Regions from separate parts of the Homo sapiens genome. Here region 2 is linked to region 1. Evidence: promoter capture Hi-C in 16 types of primary human blood cells and fetal thymus (Javierre and others, 2016). All regions are on one chromosome and are shown on one strand. Each heading gives the region's core, a stretch centred on a gene start or on the middle of the fragment in contact. The rest is flanking DNA. Distances are from core to core; before and after follow the strand shown. Region 1 holds the start of MAML3-AS1 (MAML3 antisense RNA 1). Region 2 overlaps MAML3 (mastermind like transcriptional coactivator 3).

Evidence for each region. The method cuts DNA at HindIII sites, captures the fragments that hold promoters and counts their contacts. A CHiCAGO score of 5 or more calls a contact.
Region 2: a fragment that was not itself captured here is called in contact with the fragment with the promoter of MAML3-AS1 in region 1 in 1 of 17 cell types (naive CD4 T cells); the score reaches 5.1 in naive CD4 T cells.

The regions. Positions count from the first base shown.
Region 1 is chr4:140,124,430-140,130,913 of GRCh38, reverse strand. It overlaps MAML3-AS1 (MAML3 antisense RNA 1), which reads right to left and starts at 2,899. Exons shown (of 5, transcript NR_147610.1): 1 at 2,827-2,899. The region is part of intron 1 of MAML3 (mastermind like transcriptional coactivator 3); the gene reads left to right. The HindIII fragment of the contact is 9,535 bases long and covers 224-6,484 here.
Region 2 is chr4:140,004,693-140,011,176 of GRCh38, reverse strand. All of the region lies in intron 1 of MAML3 (mastermind like transcriptional coactivator 3), which reads left to right. Among named protein-coding and RNA genes, the nearest start is that of MAML3-AS1, 120 kb to the left of the region's middle. The HindIII fragment of the contact is 2,352 bases long and covers 1,830-4,181 here.

The sequences.
Region 1 (6,484 bases), core at 1,650-4,149:
TGGCAGTTGTCCTGTGTTGCTTATGGGTGAGTGGCCAGCGCTGGGTGGTGAGCAACTTGAAAGCAAGGTTTGGATCTGACTCATAGGAGGAACTCAATAAATGTTTCTTGAATGAACCTGCATAATATTGACTATTTCATCATATCCTTATTAATTACAGCATTAGTCCTGAATTTCAGGGCTAGCATCTTGTAATATGGCTTGTAAGCTAGGCCTGTAAGCTTTTCTTCTGGTTAGTTGGGGCCACTTTTCTTGTCTTTCAGTTACACTTATCCGTCTGCTACCCAATGGTGAAACCAAGGCATACTTTAAAAATGCAATTTCTAAATGATTTTTAAGTAAAACTCTTCTTTCAGCAAGGCCAAATAATATCCAAAAGGTTTTAATCAGTTTTTAAAAATCATTGTATAAGCTGCAGTGTTCAGGCCTTTGTAGCAGATAGGTGACCCTCAGAACAATTTTTTAGACTCTCAATTTCTTCCTAGGAGACTATCTCATACAACATAATACTGTACCACTTTTAGTTGAACTTCTTTTAGAAATATGCATTTGGGCAGATAAAATTATGGGGGTGAGAAAATGGGCCAACCTATAGGACTCACGATATATGCAAACAATAGTCTGTAAGCGTAGACATTGTTCCTTCAATTCTAAGGGTTCATGTCTGTTTTTGGCCTGGGGTTTACATAGTGATTCTGCTGAGATGCACGGATAAACTGCTTGCCCCATGCCACAATTGAAAAACAAAAAGAGTACCTATTTGGTTTAAGTTTGGAAACAGAAGGTTTTTTTCCCAAGTTAACTTTCTTATCCGTCTTTTATCTTTCAATTATGTCTGTGCCTCTGCTAACACCTAGATTTATTATTGGTGCGTTTTCCACAATTGCGGATTCATTAGAATAGTAACAAATATTAGGTTGTTTTGTTTTGATTCTTTTTTTTTTTTTTGAGACGGAGTTTCGCTCAGGTCACCCAGGCTGGAGTGCAGTGGCACAATCTTGGCTCACTGAAACCTCTGCCTCCTGGGTTCAAGTGATTCTCCTGCCTCAGCCTCTCGAATAGCTGGGACTACAGGTGCACGCCACCATGCCTGGCTAATTTTTGTATTTTTAGTAGAGATGGGGTTTCACCATGTTGGCCAGGCTGGTCTCGATTTCTTGACCTCGTGATCCGCCCGCCTCGGCCTCCCAAAGTGCTGGGACTGCAGGCATGAGCCACCGCGCCCGGCCGTTTTGTTTTGATTCTTAATCACCAGTTAGACTTGGGGTCTTTTCGTTGCTGTATGGATTGCGCAGCAGCCTGAAAATTTCTGTTCTTCCTTTCGTTTCTACACGTTTGGTCTCTCTGGCAGACTGAGACTCAGCCTGTCTTTTCAGAGAACCAAGGGAAATTATCAAGCAGGCAAAATCTACCTGCTCTTCTGCTTTACCTTTTAAAACTATGTGCTGCAGCTGAAATCAGTTTTGATTTAATTTGATCAAAAATAAGTGTCTCATGCAAAGAAGGTATGCATAAGAATTGGGGGTAGGGGGGATTTAGAGTCACCTTCTTTGTAGAATTTTGGTTTGACCTTCAAACGGGACAACTTGTGTTCTAAGTTATTCCTGCATATAGCATCTACGTGGGGTCCACAATTTGTCATGGCCTAGAAGGGGGCTTCCATGGTCCCACTGATGGAAAAAAGTGATAATACTAACAGCTCACATTTTCTGAGTGTGAGACACTTTTAAATGCTTTGCATGTTATCATCTCTTTCAGTTTTCACAATGACCTTCTGAGGCTCGTCTAATTATTGTTTCCATTTAAAAGATGAGGCTACTGAGTCCCCCGAGAGTTTTGTTGATTTGTCACAGTTAATGAATGGTGGAACAGGGATTCAAACCTGGACATTATTGCTCCTGAGGCTGTGTGACTACGACTCTGATGACCTCTCGATGTTGGTCCTAGAAGGAGACCAGTGGATTTAGGTCTTCGGAAGACTACCTATGCTAGTGGAGCGTGATGGAAGGGAAATCTTGAAGGTTCACACCTAGTTGTTACTTGTTCCATTTACTCCCTGCCTGGGTCTCTCCACTCTGCCCTGACCTCAAGGACAGGGAGACGCTTCTGGCTTGCTGGGGTGTTAGTTCTTTCTCTTGCCCTGCATGTGGCCCACTAGCGATGGTTGTTGTGAAGATATACTGTCTACTTTATTTGTTTCCCTCCCAAATTGCCACAGTCAAAGTCTTCTCTGGGCTTGAGCACACATCTAGAGGACCACTGCAGCTGCCTTTGTGTGGGGATAGCCTGTGTGGGTGCACCCTTTTTTGACACACAGAGTGCTTTCCAAGAGCTCCAAGTCCTTGGTGTTAGAAGGATACTCCTGCTGCAAAGATCCCATTGCCCATGGGGAGCTCTGAGCTGACATTCCCTAACAGAACCCAAGTAGTGGTCAGAGCTTGGGGCTCCTTAAAGGCAGGGGTGCTGCTGGGTCTGAAATAGTACTTTGGATATTGCAGGTGCTCCATACATATCCATGGACTTAGTTGATTTTTAGCCCTGCAGGTTGTTCCTCAGCACATGGTTCTTCTCTGAGCTCCATACTGCCCTCATCTTCGCTCATCTGTGACTGTATCTAAACTCTTCTCAAACCTATGAGTATTTTTGGCTTCTGCACCTCCTGAGGTGTGATGAGTTCTCTGTTTTTATGAAGAAGAGATCTTACCTTGTATTGTTCTAAAGCACCATCTTAATTGAAGGTAGGAGGAGGAGTTTGGAGCAAACCAGAGAGGAATATGGACAAATGAGGGGCAAAAGAGAGCCAGGGCACAGCAGAAGGGGCCTCACCAGGGAGAAGAGGAGCTGCCTGTTCTGTCACTTAGCTCTCCATGATGTGCTGGGATGCTGTCTGTGAGGCACTGGACGAAGGCAATTTAGTGAAGTCACATTAAAGTGGCTCCAAGATTTGATGTCACAATAGGTCACTTTGACCTTCTATTTATGATCAGCTCTTGATGTACACATAAAATTTTGGGAAGTAAGTAAAATGTATATGGAGGTTTGGCTTGCGTTCTGGTGAATAAGGTCCAGGAGGTTAAATCTCTGTGCTTTTAGTACAGCTACTTGGTATCTGGGCCTCATTTCCCCACCTGTAAAGCAGGGGTAACAGTAGTTCCTTCCTCATAGTGTTGATGTGAGGACTGAGAGATACAGTTCTTGTAGAATTTTCAGTAAAGTTCTGGATCCACAGTGAGCCTTCTATAAATATCAGCTGTTATTATTAGCAAACCACCAAGATGCCCACTATTGTGCCTCATGATGGCAGGCTCAGTGGGAAGCCAACATGTTTTCTCCAAAAAAGTAGAGCATGACTCTAGGTTTGTGGTGCTTGTTAGATGGAAGAGTCGAGCTTTTGCTGGCTCTCTATACCTCTCGTGTGGAAGGTGCTTAGCATGTTTAGGCCCCATTGCAGTGACTATCAATGTGAGTCCAAATTCCCTCCACACTTTCTGTCACTCCTTTTGGACATACCATATACTGTCTCCCATCATTTATCACTGACTGGCCACATGGCACCGCTTAGGAGCCAGATGCTGGGCTAAACATTGAAGTGACAACCATCTGGTTTACTGCCCCTCCCCTGCAAGAACCTGAGGGCTCCATGGATGGAGGATGAAGGTACAAAACACAGGGCATGAGCAGGGAATCATGAGTGTTTTGGTGCTGTTGAAACAGAAAGCTCAGGACGTAAAGTGGTGGAAGAAGAGGCTGGTGAGAGAGGCAAGGCATTAGGACGTGGAGGGCCTTATCTGCCACGCTCAGAAGCATAAGCCCTATGACATAGGAGAAGAGAAACTATCAAAGGATTATAAACGAGGGTGTGATGTCATCATGACCATACGAAAGATAGGTTTGAGACCAAGACTGGGTGGAGGGAGGTCGGTGAAGATGTTACAGAATACTCAGCAGAAGATGTTGAAGGGCTTCAAGTAGGTGAGTAGTGGGTAGAGATGGAGATAGGAGACCATTTTCAAAATATATTAAGGAGTCCATTGAGTAGACAGGGGGGACTGAGAGAAATCAGGGATGACTTCCAGTTTTCTGGCTTGGAAAATGGTGTTACTAGCCAATTTAGGTTTTGGAGGGAAGATGTTTGGTTTTGGACATGCGACGTTTAATGGGTGTATTTATGGTCCATTCTGAAGGGATGTCTGGTAGTCATTTGGATGTATAGGACTAGAGTTTAGCCAGAGGTCTGGGTTGCGGGTATAGACATTGCAGATGGCTGAAATTTCAGAGTGGATGAAATTGGCAAAGCACGTATAGCAGGAAAAGAGAAGAACAATGGCAGGAACTTTGGGAAACACAAGATTCAGTGTATTTCTGAAGGAGGCGATCCTTCAAAGGAGATGAAAAAGGAACAGTCCAGTTGGCGAGGAGCACCAGGAGAGTGGTGTAGTAAACACTAAGGAGAATATAGTCAGCATAATCACATGCAGCGAGATAAGGACCAGTCTCCTGGGATTTGGCAACTGGAAGCTCCTGGCTTTTTGTTAGAGGGTTTACAATAGGATGGTGTCAGTAGAGGCAGTGGATGAAACGTATGGAAGAGGAGGGGCTGACTTGACTAAGGAAGAAACGGCATGTGTATGAGGGAAGAGACCTCACATTTAAGAGGGGCCCCTTTCAAGTAGTTGGTAAACCTTTTGGGGGTTGGAATGCCTTGAATATGTGTGGCTTCCTTTTTTTTTTTTTTTTTTAAACAATGCTTATTACAGTCCTTTATTATTATTATTACTCTTTTAAAAGAGGGTCCATTAAATGGAATAATGGTATTGCCTCTTTAACACCTGTACCTTGGCCAGGCGCGGTGGCTTACGCCTGTAATCCCAGCACTTTCAGAAGCCAAGGCGGGTGGATCACGAGGTCAGGAGTTCGAGACCAGCCTGACCAACATGGTGAAACTCTGTCTCTACTAAAAATACAAAAATTAGCTGGTGTGGTGGCACGTGCCTGTAATCCCAGCTACTCAGGAGGTTGAGGCAGGAGAATCGCTTGAATCCGGGAGGCGGAGGTTGCAGTGAGCCAAGATTGCACCGCTGTACTCCAGCCTGGGCGACAGAGCAAGACTCTGTCTCAAAACAACAACAACAACAACAAAAACACCTGTACCTTATGGCTGGGCACTGTGGCTCATGCCTGTAATTCTAGCACTTTGGGAGGCCAAGGCTGGAGGATCACGTGAGGTCAGGAGTTTGAGACCAGCCTGGGCTACATAGAGAGACCCTGTCTCTCTACAAAACAAACAAAGAGACAGACAAAAAACCTGTACCTTCTCCTCTACATAGGAGTGATGTGGTCAGTCAGTTTGCCTTGTGCATGAGTAAGTATATATGTGTCATATAATCTGGATTCTTGCAAAGGACAAATAAGAATAAAGTCATGTGATGACCAATACATTTTTAAACGTCTTTATTTTTTTGAAATTACTTTTTTAAAGTTTTTAAATTAAAAGTGAGTTTTAAAGAAAATTAGAGACAATGTCTTGCTGTGCTTCCAGGCTGGCCTCAAACTCCTGGGCTCAAGCAATCCTCCTGCCTCAGCCTCCCAAGTAGCTGGGACTACAGGCATGTACCACTGCACCTGGCTCCAATAAATTACTTTTTGTGGTGAATTCTTCATTGTTTCATATTATACACATTTGAGTAGCTTTTATTTTAAAATGTTCTTTTATTCAGTATATATCATTTATATGTGTTAATATTAATTTATATTCTGATATAAGTTGACATGTCTTTTAATAGAACATACATGAATTGAATGTCTAAATTTCAGAATATAGAAAAATAAGCTAAAGTTGGGCTTAATTAAAAAACCAAAGTCGATGCTCAAACTCTTTAATTATAATTAAAGGACATTAGAAAACAATTAATTTGTATGAATCATTTCTTTTGGAAGAATTTGTTGCTTCTGCGCTGTAGCATCTGACTCTTGGCATTGGATATAGGGCCTCTATCATCTGGGTATTTGCCTGTGAGGCTTGCTTCTGTGTGAGTTTCAGATACTGGAATTGCTCTCGTCATGACCCTAATCATGGCATTCAGGTTGCTCATGGCTCTGCCACCTGCACCAGGGCTTTTCTATATTAATAACAAGGTGTAATCCATGTTTTCTAGCAGTTTACCAGCTAAAGGACTGCAAAGGAGGGCCAACTTAAGACTAATTAGTATTGCAAATAGGTCTGGTAAACCCTGAATGTCCAAATGCTAAATCTACTTTTCTAGCTGTTCCTGCTTTTTAAAGAGGTGCTTAGGCCTCTATTTTGTGATAGCTTTTGATTTCTTCTATTCTTTCACCTAGATTTTATTGTGCTTTTGGGGGTAACTTGTGCAAGGTCTCCAGACGCTTAAGAGAACACTTCCTAATGGTTATATTTTCCCAAATTACGAGAAAACTTGGAGATGTCTGAGCGTGTTTCCCTCCTAGAAACTCTCCCAGCCATACC
Region 2 (6,484 bases), core at 1,756-4,255, 120 kb after region 1:
ACATATATGTCATATATATAAATATATATGACATATGTGTATATATATATATATACACACACACTTTTTTTTTTTTTTCGAGACAGAGTCTAGCCCTGTCGCCCAGGCTAGAGTGCAAGCAGTGCAATCTTGGATCACTGCTACCTCCGCCTCCTGGGTTCAAGCAATTCTCCTGCCTCAGCCTCCCAAGTTAACCAGGATTACAGGCACTTGCCACCATGCCCAGCTACTTTTTGAATAGAGACGGGGTTTCACCATGTTGGCCAGGCTGGTCTTGAACTCCTGACCTCAAGTGATCTGCCTGCCTCGGCCTCCCAAGGTGCTGGGATTACAGGCTTGAGCCACTGCGGCTGGCCTCATGTATATTGTTTAATGGGATCATTATGTCATTCATTTCCCTTAATTCAAGTTAGAAATAGCTTGATATTTTTATCAAATGCACCCCGTTTCAAAATATTTTGGCATTTTTTTTGTTTTCACTGATCTTAAAGGATTTTTCCTAACATGAGCAGACCTTATGAAACTGTTGTAAGTATATGAACATACTCAACAAAATAAGTTCAAGTAGACATCTTAAAAACGTATTACTGGGCAACACTTATTGACTTATTTCTAGTTAGCAATGCACTTAAATAGTATTTCTTTAAATAAAACTTCTTGGTTCTAATTTTTAAATTGTTTAAACTGATCTACCCCGATGAAAAGAAGGAATTAAAAAGCAAATATGACTATACCAACAAATATACATATAGTTACATATTCACTTTCAATGAACGCTGACATTTAAAAAACACCATACGGCACAAACATAAATATGTGTGTGTGTATAGGTGTGCTTAACAGTGGTACAAATTTCCAGTCACCCCAGTCAAAACATCTGATTTAAATTTGTTCCTTCTGCTGAATGCCAGATATGCAGGTTAGGATCAAGTGAAATGAGCCCATTTCAATAAAGTCTAGAACTAACCAGTGCCCTCATATTTGTGGTACACATTAATTTTTTTAAGTGAAGCATAGTAGAGAATCAAGAATGACGTTTTTCTTTGTTCCTTCACTTTATGTTGTAGATTTGATGGTACTCTCATACATGTAAGGGTAAAATTACCTCTTTGCAATGGAAAACAAAATTTTTTGGATGTGGAAGCACCCAATAAAAGCAATGCCTATTTCCACACAGTCTAAGTTGAAAACAATTTCTCTGGATAACCAAAGTTGCTTAATTTTCTATACCATCCAGCCATTTGCTAAACCAGTGGTAAGCCCAGTCCTAGAATGTCTAATTAATGATATTATGAGAAGATACATTCTATCCCAAATGAGTTTAGCTTGAACTGATAAAATTCCTGTGAATCTAAGTACCTTCCCAGATTCTTATGAATCTAGGCAAGCATCTCAGATGTCAGCTCCTTAAGGACAGGGATTTTTGTCTCTTTATTCACTTCTGTATCTTTGACTCCTAGAATAGTTCCTGGTGCACAGCAGGTACTCTTTATGTATTTGTTGAATTAAATCAATGCAATTAAATCTTGTGCCTGGATTGCTCAGAATAGTTTCCTTGACTTAGGGAGAATTTAGTGAAGTGATGTTTAAAATATTATTATAGCATGTTACAGTTGAATGGAAGAACCAACTAATGTAATGATTCTTAAACATTGGTCAGCATGGTTAATGGAGGACAAAAAAAATTATAGGAAAAGATCTCTTGCTAAGAATAAGATTGCCCACAGACAAAGGCTGAGAGAGTGCATTCTCCACTGGACTGTAGTACAGACTAGGGAAAGTGGGTCAGGATCGGGAACATCTGTGAATGGGAGGGCAGCGGGAAAGCTTGTCCTATAGAAAATTAAAAAACAAAAAACAGAGACACTTCCTGTGCAGCACAAGGCCTGTGGGAGCCTGGGGCTTGTTGGTTCGTAAATTTGACCACTCTCTGCCTTCCTGGCAATTCCCATTTAGTAAACCAAAATTCTAGGGACCAAAATGCACATGACTTGTAACAATAGGCACAGGCTGATGTTTTGTCTCAGCATTAGGTGTTGTCAGATTTGAGCATGTGTACAGTAGTGCAGATACATACTATATGTTGGGTATCTATCATGCTATTATATTAAGAACTCAAAGTCACGGAAATTAACTGTAACATTAAATCACAGTTTAAAAGGTATTGGAATTTGGGAAAGATGACCCTTTTAGATATGCAAAGGTTTTAAGATTAAGCCAAATATGCAAATTATAATTTATGAACAATTTTGCGGTCCCTTTTCTGTCAGATTAATTGGTAAAGAGTTTTCGTGGTGGCGAAATAATACACATGGATCCACATCCCTGTAAAGGCTGCCAGGTCAGTGCCTGACAGAAGTGTCTTTTATCGCAAGGAGTCAGTTGCAGATCAGGTTAATGTTTGTGTGTGCGCGTGTATAAAGGTTGTTTACAGATAAAAATTCATCTCTTTTTTTCCATTCTCATAAATTTTATTTGTTTATTGGAGTAAGACACATTGAGATTATCTGGAAGATGAACTATGTATATTCAGCATCTGAAAATCAATATAAAGGCAGGCTTTTAACTTGTGAGAGAAAAAAAAGAGTAAGACCTGTCATTTGCTTTTTCATCTCTTACCAGCTCACAGTTCCACTTCGTAGTTCCTTCAGGGACCAATGTCAAAAGGGAATGATAGGCTGTAAACCGTGTTCCTGATAAACCTACCTTATTTGAAAAAGTGTTTGGTCAGAAAATGCTTGGTCCTTACCATGTGATAGGATTCTAAAAGGTCAGAAACCTGTAAACACCATGCAAAAACACTTTTAAAGATTCTTTTTTTTTTTAATTGAGACTGAGTTTCGCTCTTCTTGCCCAGGCTGGAGTGCAGTGGCGCGATCTGGGCCCACTGCAACCTCCGCCTCCTGGCTACAAGCGATTCTCCTGCCTCAGCTTCCCGAGTAGCTGGGATCACAGGCATGCGCCACCACGCCCAGCTAATTTTTTTGTATTTTTCGTAGAGACGGGGTTTCACCACGTAGGCCAGGCTGGTCTCAAATTCCTGACCTCAGGTGGTCTGCCCACCTTGGCCTCCCAAAGTGCTGGGATTACAGGCGTGAGCCACTGCGCCCAGCCTAAAATCTAACTCTGGGACTAGCCTAGGGTAAATATCACAAATATTAATCCTAGACGTTTGAAATCTCTTTACTCAGCAGTACAAATTGACAACGCTGCCCAACAGTGCCATTTCTTACCGATGAAAAATTCTCTTTGATAGTAGAGCCAAATAAATGACTGTGAGTTACTAGATTAAGGTGACCTACAGGGCCGTGTCCTTAAAATGGCAGGAGGTTTCAGTGCAAGAGCAGAGAAGCAGTTCTGGTGGATGGAAGTCAGTGGCTTCTTCAGGATGGTGTGGGAGAAGGCACAGGGTCAAGAATTGCAGCCTGGTAAGGCTGGTCGCTTTCCCTGCCTCTCTGTTAGCTGTGGAGGAAAGAATGGGATCAGCTTGGCTTTCCCATTTCCAGGCCATCCAATGGCTGGTGGCTTTGGAATATAACCTGATCTTACCCCGACCACCTCCCTTTTGTTCCAAATGGGTGAGAAGGTAAAAGAAACAGATACAGAAACCTTTTTTTGCTGTTTCTCTTTCCTCTTTCTTTCTAGATCTCTGAGGCATTCCCTCCCCACTGCCCTCCCTTTACTGGAATATAATGGAATACAGAAACGTCTCCTTTCGCCTCATCTTCCATTCCCTTATTATTATTTTAGCTACTAGGAATTAGCATTAGGAAGAATCCCAGGAAGGAAAAGCTGTAATAAAGATTATCATTTCCAAGAAGGGACCAGCCCAGTGTTTTGTTTTGTTTTAGATTTTAGGCTCTTTGAGTGCAATTTTCCTCCAGTTGGTGATAAATTTTTAGCCGCTATGAGGTCTTTTCACTTTTTATCACGTATCCTCTTGTTTTCTCTAATCTCTTTTAGATCTTACTTTTCTCTCTACAAAGATTAGTATTCTCTTCAGTGGAAATTTATGAACAAGGCTATTTAAAAAAATGCCGATAAGCTATCCTTGTATGTTTTCTTCATATAAATATTTGCCCCAGCAATATATACGGCAACATCCTATGTTATAGGATATGTGGACTCAGATTCCTTTTCAAAACTATCACCTACCTCTATCCTATTTTACCACCAAAGCTTATTTTACCAAAAAGCTTATGAAGCTTTTTGTTCTTTAAACATAACCAAGTTTATATTCATTTGTATATGGCACCTACCTCAAGGGGTTGACGGGAAGATTAAATGAGTTAATATATCCAAAGTACTTGGATTAGTGCCTGGCAGCGGGTAAGCTCTATGTAAGTCTTTGCTATTATTATTTTTTATTAGCTTTTATTATTTTTATTTGATAGACGACTATAGAATATCAATTTTAATTCATCTCCAGCTATGGTTGGATGCAGTTAGCCCTGCAATTGTTTGAACTTTAGAGGTCAACAGATGTATTTCAGTTGAATGAGAAAATATGCTAACCACCTTTTTTTCTGCTCTGCCCAGGGGTCTTCAAATGTCTCCTAATTCACTTTTTCACTTTTTTTTTTTTTTTTTTGAGACAGAGTTTCGCTCTGTCACCCAGGCTGGCGTGCAGCGGCGCCATCTCGGCTCACTGAAACCTCCATCTCCCAGGTTCCAGTGATTCTCTTGCCTCAGCCTCCAGAGTAACTGGGATTACAGGCACCCGCCACCATGCCTGGCTAATTTTTGTATTTTTAGTAGAGTCGGGGTTTCACCATGTTGGTTAGGCTGGTCTCAAACTCCTAACCTCAAGTGATCCACCCCTCTTGGCCTCCCAAAGTGCTGGGATTACAGGGGTGAGCAACCGCACCCGGCCTGTTTCCTAATTCACTTCTTGTTCACTCTAATACCAACCAGGAGAGGGGAGTGCTATGGACCCCTCCCCCTTCCACTCCCTTTCTTCCTATTGGCCCCCTCGAATTAGGAACAAGACAGAAGCATATGTTTTGGCATCTTATGTGTTCTCATAAAAAAGAGTCATCTTACTCGATAAAGTCCACTTAAATCTGGAAAGCCCTTGCATGGCACACGATATCTCAAGTGGCAGCCTCCAAACAAAAGATGACTATAGAACCCCCGAAATTCAAGGTCAGGAGACTGAATAATGAATGTCTGTTTATCCACCTGGTGCTTTAAAACTGACCTATGTTTCCCATAAGATGTCTTGAGGTTGAATTATGTCACAGCAGTAATGTCTTTAACACTATTGGGTGAGATGATTTGAGAGAGATCAGATTTCATCTGGTGAGTGACAAGGCTTCACTCCCTCTTGCAGTGTATTAAAACAATTAAACATCAGATGCATTTTACTGCAGTCTGTTTGACTCACGTGTGCATATTAGAATATTTTTTTCAAAAACCTATGAAATAGGAGCCTAGCTCCCTGTGAATGTTTATGGCGCTCATTAACAAAGTTCATCTCCAGGATGTATGATTTTCAGTTTTCTCTTTCTAATCTTCTTTTGGGAGGATGGAGGATGGGTAGAAATCAATTTTCCCAGCTAGATCTGCATTTTTCCAGTTAGAAAAGATGTTTCATTTTAATTTGTTGTCTGATGGTATTGAAATATTTTTCCAATCTGTTGTTATTTAAAAGAGCAAGCCCTATTCCTGTCATCATCCATTACCTGGAGCGTTATTTAGTAAGTGCTTTGTTTGTAAACAGATAGTGGTTTTAAACAGATCTAGTCCTGTGGTGATCATGTTTCCAACATTGGAGGACAGCTGCCTGGCAGCAGCACTTTTCTATGTTTAGTTTTTTATTTCAGTTCTTCTGAATTGATTATTTCCTCCTAATGTTTCCAGGTTAAGGAATATTTTATGCATATTATTTGTCAAATTCACATTTCTCTTTCTGCCAAGGAGGATTAGGAATCTCTAGTGAATCAACCTGCTCCAGATAGTTTCTGGGAAAGAGGAGAGGTGAAACAGGAAAAATCCTAGCCCTCTGCATTGTCTTAACCATTTGAACTAACCAGGACAAAGGGTAGCAACACCACTGAGTTAACCCACTGCATTGTTCAAAGCCCGTCCTCCACATTCACCAGCACCCCAGCACACTTAACCAAAATGTTTTCTACCTGTGTTTTTTGAAGTACAGATTTTAGCTACTTTGCTGAACTTTTGTTTTCTTCCTGATTATTTTGTTTCACAAGAATTTCTAAACTCTTAAGGAAACAAAAATCATTCTGTTTGGTTTTTGGTAGTTGAAAATACAGCTATATCTGGGGAATATGATGATAGGGAGGAGTTATTTCTTATGTTAAAAAAAAAACCTAAGGAAAACGGTAGCCCTCCTTTCGGCTAGGAAATGACCATGTGTCTCTCTACTGGGGAGCAGCTGCTGGGAGCCCTGGGCTGGCAGGGAGAGCGGGTCTGGGAAGGGAGCTGCGCCAGGCTCCCTCGCCAGCCCCGTGAGCGCTGCGTT